Regions from separate parts of the Homo sapiens genome. Here all the other regions are linked to region 2. Evidence: promoter capture Hi-C in 16 types of primary human blood cells and fetal thymus (Javierre and others, 2016). All regions are on one chromosome and are shown on one strand. Each heading gives the region's core, a stretch centred on a gene start or on the middle of the fragment in contact. The rest is flanking DNA. Distances are from core to core; before and after follow the strand shown. Region 1 overlaps C2CD5 (C2 calcium dependent domain containing 5). Region 2 holds the start of RECQL (RecQ like helicase). Region 3 has its middle 98 kb from the start of C2CD5.

Region 1 (2,995 bases), core at 179-2,678, 970 kb before region 2:
CCTATTGGTGGTAGTCTCTTAGTATTTGTTGAATGATGAAATAAATGGTTTAAAATGTTCTTTGTTAGTAAAAAGAGATTCTTATTGGTGGTAAAAATGTGAAAGAATATAGTTTTTCAGTTACAGTTTCTTTTTTTACAAATTTGCTCCCAGTCATTTCCTTTAATCAGTCTTTTTACCAACTTTGCAATAAGTATCACAATGCTGCCTCCTCTGTGGATGACTGATGGCAAGAGTCTGAATTGAAAGAAAAATGGGTTGGAATTAGAATGAAACTATTTGTTTTTATGAGTCTCTGATAATGAAAGACTTTCACAAAAGGAAAGTATAACATTCACACGTATACATATGTAACAAACCTGCACATTGTGCACATGTACCCTAAAACTTAAAGTATAATTAAAAAAATAAAAAAAGAAAGTATAACATTATTGCTTTTATTATTTTAAACGTCTTATCTAATTTTGGCTGGTCTTCTGGAACAGTGTGTCTGGATTGTTGCGTCACATGTATAGCTTTCATCATATTATTCTAGCATAGTTGTTAATTTGGGAGGAATTTTAAGGTTATGACCTACAGCTGCACTATTCATTATTCACTGTGGTAGCCGCTGGCCACATGTGACTTTTGAGGACTTGTGACTAGTCTGAATTGAAATGTGTAGTAAGTATAAAATATACACTGGATTTTAAAGATTTACTGTGAAAAAGTAGTGTAAAATATGAATATTTTTGTATTGATTTTGTGTCAAAAATTTAATATTTTGGATATACTGAATGAAATAAAATGTTTTATTAAAATGGATTTTATCTGTTTCTTTTTACTTTATTATGTATGTGGCTTGCTTTATATTTCTATTGAACAATACTGACTTAGGGCTTCTTTAAAATGAATGCAAATGTTGATGTGTTAACATATTCATATTTGAAAAATAGACTTTGTAAAAGTTCTCTGTGCACCACTCTACTGACTGCTTATTTTTATAGTACATTATTTTTATTTGGTAGTTATATTTTGATATTTGAACATCTGTTTATAGTATGCCACTTGGGAAAAATGATTTGTAAAGCTTTGTGTTAGGGTTTCATATATTCTTCATTTATTATTTCTAATGATATGAGCTGAACTTTTTTACTTACTTAATAGTGTTTCTCACCTCTGTAAATCCATCCTGACCTCTAACAGGAAGAATGGACTCTTCCTCCATTGTGTACTTGTTGTACCTGTATGTACTTGTATAGAAACTGTTACATATTATTGTACTTAGTTTTTATATATCTGTCTTCCTTTACTATAATGTAAGCCCTTTGGAGACAGGGATGTGTTTAAATAAGACTATGAATTAAGTTACTTCATCCATTCAGTACTTATTGAGCTGCTACTATGTGTCATACAGTTTACATTTGGAAGGAGGGAGTAAATCTATTATGATTTTAAAAATTTTAACATATATGAATTTCATGTGTTGAGGATGACTGTATTTTCACAACAGTACTCATCAGTTTATGCATCTTCTAATATGTCTTTCCTTATTGTAGATACTGACTACATTATAGTCTTTTAGCATAATCTCTCAGCATTTTTTTTGACAGAGTCAGTGTACAAGGTTGATTACCAGGCCACTATACACATTACAGTGTTGTGTTATGTCCACCCTGAATATGTAGATCAGAGTGTTCCTTCTCTTAGGATGATAGCCCTCACTGAAATAAATGCTGCTGTTTAAATTTTTTGTCAATACATTAAAAAATGTTTCTAATACAAAGGTGTAGTACCACTTAAGCTTTATGGAGATAATCAAAGGTATCAAAATAAGATGCACATCTCTCAGAATAACAGTACTAGTGATGAAATTTCAGTATGAATCTAGAACATATTAAATACCAGACAGTTATATTTGTTAAGTCTGTGGCATTGTGAACAAAGGCATAACAGAATTTAAAACTATTGTAAAATTATAAAAAGTAGTGTGGTATCTAGTGGGAATAACGTTGCACTGTGTGTCAAAAGACTGACCTAGACTGGCTCTACACTTGCTAGTTTTCCAAATTTAGGCAGACTACTAATTTACTTCTGAATTACAGCTCTTTTCCATTTTGTAGTTATTATAATGTTAACTTTATAGAGGGCAGATTAATTTGGAGTACAAATAAGATAAATTGATGTGAAAGTGCTCCATAGATCATTACATTATGAAATTGTGCAGTGGTAGTCTTTTATCTAAGGTGCATACTACCAATGAACATTTAAAACTATATATTTTTGAAAAATTTTATGTACAATTTCCTTGTTTATTAAAAAGACAATTCTGTTGCATCAGCAATAGGCTATGGCTTTTGCTTTTGCGTTCACGTATTCATATTCTTCCAGCATTCCTTGTGGCCGACAGACACTTAGAACCCCTAGTGATCTTTGGCTATGTAACAGCAAAAAGCTCACTAAGCCATACAGTATTGCACCATACACTGACCTTAAAAAGATCATTATTGTAAGTACCAATGTTTATTTAGCTTAATAAATTGAATAGCAAATATGTGCATAGTATAAGTATATATGTATTCATACTCATACATTGATCATATTTCACATTTTGCTATATGGAGCTTTGAAAGTGGATAAGAAAATATATAAAAGATTAGAATTCTTTCTAGGAACATAAGTCTTTAAATTTTTAAGGCCTATTAGGACTTTTATAATGCTGAATAGAAAATATGCACACACAGCAGTACTGGATTTCAGAGCTGTAAGGACTGCCAATTCCATACACATTGTAGTGTCCTGTGTGTACACTAGATGTCAGTTTTATCTTGTTATGTCTGTGACAGTTATATATATTTTTCTGATTCGTGTATCATTAAGGCTGCCATATCTGCTATAAAAGTTTAGTTTTAAAGGTTATACTTAAGTACGGACTTCACTGAGTATATTTTACAGGCTTTTTCTCCACAGGTAGGTGTCTACTAATATAAAGATGTAAAATTTAAACTGGAAAAGA
Region 2 (3,054 bases), core at 482-2,981:
TTGTTTCTGTCACTTTTTCTTTGACCATGCACTCAATTTCTTTTGTGCCTCATTTAACTTATGAAAGGGGCATGCTTCTGTGAGCCTTACAGGGCTCTTATAAGAATTATGCATAATGATTCACATGAAAGCACATGGTTAACTGAAAGAAAATACCTTTATATAATTGCCAGTAATTATTATTACACTAGATTCCTATCCCCTCAAGACTACACTTTTATTTTCTTTGATCAGAACAGGCCAGGCCAATGGACCAAAGTGGGCGGCAACCTTGGGGCAGGTGGCCCCAAGAGGCAGCCCCAGTCCAGCCTCAGGAGGGAAGACAGCCTGATTGGGGGGTGGCAGTGTGTGTAGGAGGCCTTAGAAGCTCTGTGAAGTTGGTCTGCCATGACTTGAATCTCCACAAGAAGACTCCACTTTAAAATAGGGCATTTTAAATAAACTTCTATTTTTCACTTCAATTCACTGTTTAAGTCTTAAAATATTGAAAATCTGAGTTAACTGGAGTGAAATGAAAGGCGTGGCAGATAAAGCAAAGTGAGACAAAAAGAGACTCTTATGAACATCAAAATATGAGGTACAGAGCTTGGGCAGACATAAATACAAAAATTATTAATATTAACAAAAAGCAGTAGGAAAGTGGAAATATTATAATGAAAGAAAAGGAAACCGATATCAATGCTAGCTTTAGAGATGAAATAGGCCTGGAGAACTCTGTGGCAGGCAGAGAGCGATGCTAAAATAATAAAACAAGCCACAAAGCACAATATACAATACTAACGAAATATATCCTTTAATGGCACACAAAGTGGCTTTTCTCTACTGCTTGAAACTTTAGCAGGTAGAAAAGTGAGAATGTTTCAAGAGACTTCTAAAAGGTTGCTTACAGTACTGGCAAAAAGCGAATATTCAAAATGCCACATTTAAGCGTAAGGACATTTTCAAAAAGAGCCTACTGTAGGTGACATTTAAAATACCGCCTCCCAAATAACCAGCCAGCCAGGGACTTGTAGAGGACCCGAAGTGTGTCATGCGCATAAACGATCCCGAGAGTGGGCCGCGGGCACCACGCAAACTTTCTCTTGTGGCAAGCCCCTAGAACAAAGCGCCCATCTCACTGGGGATGAGGAGATCAGCGCGACCCTGGAATGAGACAGACTCTGGGCTAAAGCTCCCCTCCCAACATAGGGCGTCCCACCCTGCCCCACAGACTCTTCTCCCAGGTCAGGTCCGCCAGTCCAAGTCTAGCCCCGGCATCCCGAAGGCAGCCCCTTAGGGTCCCAGCAGCCCTAGCTCTGTCTCGCAGGCCACCGCCCCCAACCCAGAGCTTCATTCATTGACCCCGGCGGAGGGGCGAGACCCAGCCGGGCGATGGGTGTGCGCGGCTCGAGGCGGGGGCCCCGGAGCAGGTGCTTACTCTGCGTGTCCGTTAAGGAGATCATGGCTGCAGTGGTGGGGACAGCGGCGACAGCACCTCGGAAAGCCCAGGGTGGGAAGCTGAGTCGGGAGAAATGAAGCCGGGAAACAGCCCAGGCGAGAGCCGCCACGTCTTCCGGAAACACGCAGCCACCCTCACTGCCGCTTTAAGAGCGCTTCCTATTGGCGAAACCTGCTTCCAATCTCAACCAATAACTCGTAATGTTGTTCGGTGACGCGCATGGTGACCACACCCCTTGACCAATTAGAGAAGGGAGTTATCTGTGATTGGCTGAACGGACCGACCCGGAAGGGTGGATGCTCTCAGCTGGCTGGCGGGAAGATTTTACTCCCGAGTAGCGGAAAGATCTGCTCGAGGCCTGGGTGCTTTGGTGTCGGAGATCCGAGAGTCGGAGATCGGAGAGTCGGACACAGGACAGTCGGACACCGGACAGTCAAACACCGGAGAGTTAGACCGGGCTTCTCGGTGGGGAGAGGCTCTGGGATAACTACTGTTACAGCTTTGAAGGGTCAAGGGTGTGCGCTTTTTGTTTCATCCTTCCCTTTCCTGCTGCAGGGCGAGGCCGGTCTGTAGCGGATCACTTCCTTTCGCCCACACATTGGCGGAGGAGAAACCGGAAAGTTAATCACTGCCCTGCTCTGAGAACTCGGGCCTTTAGGGGCACGTTCGCCTGCTGACCGGTCTTCTGATCTCCCCATTCTTTTCCATGCAGGAGGATTGGCCACCAAAGCCTGTTTATTAGCAGCTGCCATTTGTTGGTAAATACTACTGGGGATGCTTCTTCCACCCCCTGCTTCACAGTAGCGGAAGGGCGGGCGTTATTAATATTAAATTACTATTGCCTCTAAATGCAGGTGGCGGGGAGAGAGAGGATTTAGCCTATGGTATCTCAGTGGCGTTTCCTCCAACATTGATGACTGGCTGTCACCCTGTAACATTCTTCCTGTGGATGCCTAGCTTATACTGCTGAGTGACAGACCTGCTGTAGTTCAATTTCTGGATACATTTTATGTTGAGATATCTTTTGCTGTTAAATCACATCATTTTGGGAAGGAGCAGTCTTTTAACCGCATAATCAAAGGAGTCATTTAAAATCGTGGGGGAGAATTGGATATAGACTGTGTCTTTTCATAAGGGTAGAAACAGCCCCTGCTACCTTAGCAAACCTGAGCCCTCACTACATCAAGGCATTTTCCTGGGCTGTGCGGATACAAAGGTGAAGAGATTGAACCCCAGCCCTGCTAAAGGACCTTACAGTCTATGGAAGGAATGTTACATTTTCATTACGTGAAGAGATGTTTGTATAGATCAAGAATTAGAAATCCTTGGTTTACTCTCCTATTTAGCCTTCTTTTAATGGTGTGGTTATTCCACATTCTTTAGCAAGGCAAAAAAGAGTCAGCCTATCTTTCCGGCCTAGTGGTGGCTTCAGAATTCTGTGTAGAAAGGGCGTAAGGTCAGCAGTCTAAGGATAGGTGTTGCAGAAGTGACTTTTGGAGAGCATCTTAGTTTTAGAAAATGTCCATATTAGAGAGATAGAAGAGGTGTTTTTAGGATTATGGGGAATTTAAAGTTTCTACTCTCCAGCCCCATTTTCCACTTGTCCATATGCATGC
Region 3 (2,969 bases), core at 467-2,966, 940 kb before region 2:
ACACAGTAAATAGTGGAGTCAAGATTCAAGCACAGGCAATTTGGCTCTAAAACCTACACTAGTAAGTGAGAAAATGTGAGTGTAGCTTGGAATAGAGGTACTTCCCAAAGGAGACAATGTTTTAGCTCAGTCAGGAAAAGTAGTTCACTGGAATTGGGTATTCCCAGTTTATTCATCCATGCATCCATTCGTCCAGCCGTTTGTCCATCCAGCAGCTGTTACGTGATTGCATAGTGTGCTCCAGAGTCTTTCTAGGCAAAGGAATAATAACAGCCATTGCTAATTGGCTGTTTTGTGCCATGTCCTGTGTACATAACGATATTGCTAATAATTCATAAAACAAGCCAGGTGGGATTATCTCTATTTTAGTATGAACAATTGTATACTCATGGTGAGACCCAGACTGATTTCTGTCAAAGCTGGAGTTTCCTTAACCACCCAAACTTGCTGCCTATTTACTCACATGGGACTGTTTGCTCCTGTGGGCTACCTTTGAAGCACAATCATCTGGACCAAGATTGGTTCCTTCCAGAAAGGCTAATGTTAACCTACACCCCAAGAGCTGCTGCTCTTTCACTATGCGTACATTACCCCTGAAACATGAGCATCTGGAATGGACATGCTGGGACTTACTCTTGGAAATAGGCCAGTTTACAGCATTTACAGCAGGCTTAACATGCCCTTCATCTTTCATCACTGCTTCTAGGGGCAACGACTCAATTTAAACGAACTCACTGTCGCACTTCCTCCACCTCCTTCTCTCCCATGATGCATTGTCATCTGGCTTTTATCACCTGTTCTGCCCTTGAATTTGAACATGCCAAAGATATAAGTATTGGATTGCAGTCTTGCAGTATTATTTGGTGAGTTTTTTTTTAATGCATACAGCTTTTTCATAAGTGCATAAATGGGATTATATAAACAATGTTTAGAGTAGTTTTCTTTTTTACCCTTTTGCCTGGTTTGCTCTTCTTCCCTATCACATCCCTTCCAATCCATGTTAATAACCTAGTGTGTGTCCTTACATATTTTGAAAAATCTGTTAGATATAATTTAAATTCAACAAAATTCATCTATTTTAAGTGTATAGTTTGAGGTTGGCAAATATATTCCATCATGTAGCCAAGATATGGAACGTTTCCATCACCAATAAAGTTCCCTGGTGTCCCTCTGCAGTCAGTCTACTCCCCCTTCCATGTCAGTGGGATCTTGTGCTCAGCAACTTTCATTTGGCATAATGCTTTTTGAGATGCGTCTATGCATGGACAACATTTTTGGCCAGTAGGAATAATAGAGCTATTTTGCATTTGAGTTTGCACTTTTTTTGTGAAAATGAAAATTTCTGTCCTATGGGGTTGACTTTTTCTTGTTAATATTTAATCTGCTGTGTGTGACAATTTCCCCCCTATTTTGTTGTCTATCTTTACAGTAACTTTTCACAATATCTATACTTTTTGTTATGGACAGTGTGACCATCTTTCCTTTTTTTTAGCTTCTTAGTTAAATTGACCTCTATTCTCTCTTTGATTTTTTTTTTGGTGTGGGGGGGCTGTCCTTAAGCTTCATCAATTTTCATACATCTTGAATTGCTCTTTTGTTAGTATGTCTCCATCAGTAAAAATTTACTATTTCTTATTTCCATAAATGTTGTTACTACTTAGCCGGTTTAGCTTGAATCGGAAGTCTGGGAGATCAAAACCTATCCTCTTCCCAATACGCCACCTAATCTCATGGCACCAGTGCATAAAGACGTGGAAGCATAAAAATGTGTGTTGTGTGGAAGCAACACATTTATTTACAAACCTTTTTTTTCTTTTTCCCTCAGAGGAGGGTCATTTTCAGAGTACTTTTGGTAATCCGATCTAAGCTTTGGACCTTTTTGTCCCCCAAAATAAGCATATACATGAACTTTTGCATACTACTTCAGGAGGTTTATTGAAACCACTTATTTGACCCCAGGCTGAATAAGGAACCACGCTGAAGAAAATGTTAGGAATGGTTGGATAAATAGTATCCTAGGAAGCTTGGCTTCTTTCTAATAGAAAAGTCAAGGCACTATAAAGACTCTCAATCTCTCTCTCTCTCTACATATATATATATAATTAAATATAAATATATTTATAATATAAATCAATATATTATTTATATATAATATAAATAGTTAATAGATTAATTATTAATATATATTATATATATTATATATATAATATATAATATATATTTAATATATATAACATTTAATATATATAACATATTTCTATATAATTAGATATATTTATATATAAATTATATATTAATATACCTATATTGATATCTGAATTTATATAAAGTAGATATATAATTATATATAATTTTTTGACTTTTTTTAATAGCCAAAGATTGCAGATATTAATCTTGTACAACAGTTGTTTTAAATTATATATACATTGTGGAATGACTAGATTGAGCTAATTAGCATATGCATTACCTCACTTTTTTCTTTTGTGGTGGGACCACTGAGAATCTACTTCTCTTAGCAATTTTCAAGAACACAATACATTATTAACTGTAGTCACCATGTTGTACAATAGACTCCTTGAACTTATTCCTCCTATTTAATTGAAGTTTTGTATCCTTTGACCAACATCTCCTAAGGCCTCACCTCTGGCAACCACCATTTTACTATCTACTTCTATGAGTTCAACTTTTTTAGATTTCACATATACTATGTAAGATCATGTGGTATTTGTCATTCTTGCCTGGCTTATTTTACTTAACATTGTGTCTTCCAGGTTCATTCATGTTGTTGAAAATGGCAGAATTTCCTTCTTTTTAAAGACTGAAGAGCATCCCATTGTGTATAGATACCATATTTTCTCTATCCACTTATCTGTTTGTGGACACTTAGGTTGATTTCATAACTTGGCTATTGTGAAAAACGCTGTAATGAACATGAGAGTGCAGATACCTCTTTGACATACTGATTTCAT

The links. Contacts are between HindIII fragments. The CHiCAGO score rates a contact against its expected background, and 5 or more counts as called.
Region 1: a fragment that was not itself captured here is called in contact with the fragment with the promoter of RECQL in region 2 in 1 of 17 cell types (monocytes); the score reaches 5.2 in monocytes.
Region 3: a fragment that was not itself captured here is called in contact with the fragment with the promoter of RECQL in region 2 in 1 of 17 cell types (naive B cells); the score reaches 5.8 in naive B cells.

What each region holds. Positions count from the first base shown.
Region 1 is chr12:22,474,930-22,477,924 of GRCh38, reverse strand. The region is part of intron 15 of C2CD5 (C2 calcium dependent domain containing 5); the gene reads left to right. Among named protein-coding and RNA genes, the nearest start is that of C2CD5, 68 kb to the left of the region's middle. The HindIII fragment of the contact is 714 bases long and covers 1,072-1,785 here.
Region 2 is chr12:21,500,312-21,503,365 of GRCh38, reverse strand. It overlaps RECQL (RecQ like helicase), which reads left to right and starts at 1,731. Exons shown (of 15, transcript NM_002907.4): 1 at 1,731-2,196. It overlaps GOLT1B (golgi transport 1B), which reads right to left and starts at 1,577. Exons shown (of 5, transcript NM_016072.5): 1 at 1,418-1,577. The coding sequence starts at 1,442. RefSeq lists enhancers at 512-1,219, 1,220-1,927, 1,878-1,937, 2,078-2,267, 2,308-2,357 and 2 more. The HindIII fragment of the contact is 11,962 bases long and covers 1-3,054 here.
Region 3 is chr12:22,445,102-22,448,070 of GRCh38, reverse strand. No RefSeq gene overlaps it. Among named protein-coding and RNA genes, the nearest start is that of C2CD5, 98 kb to the left of the region's middle. The HindIII fragment of the contact is 307 bases long and covers 1,563-1,869 here.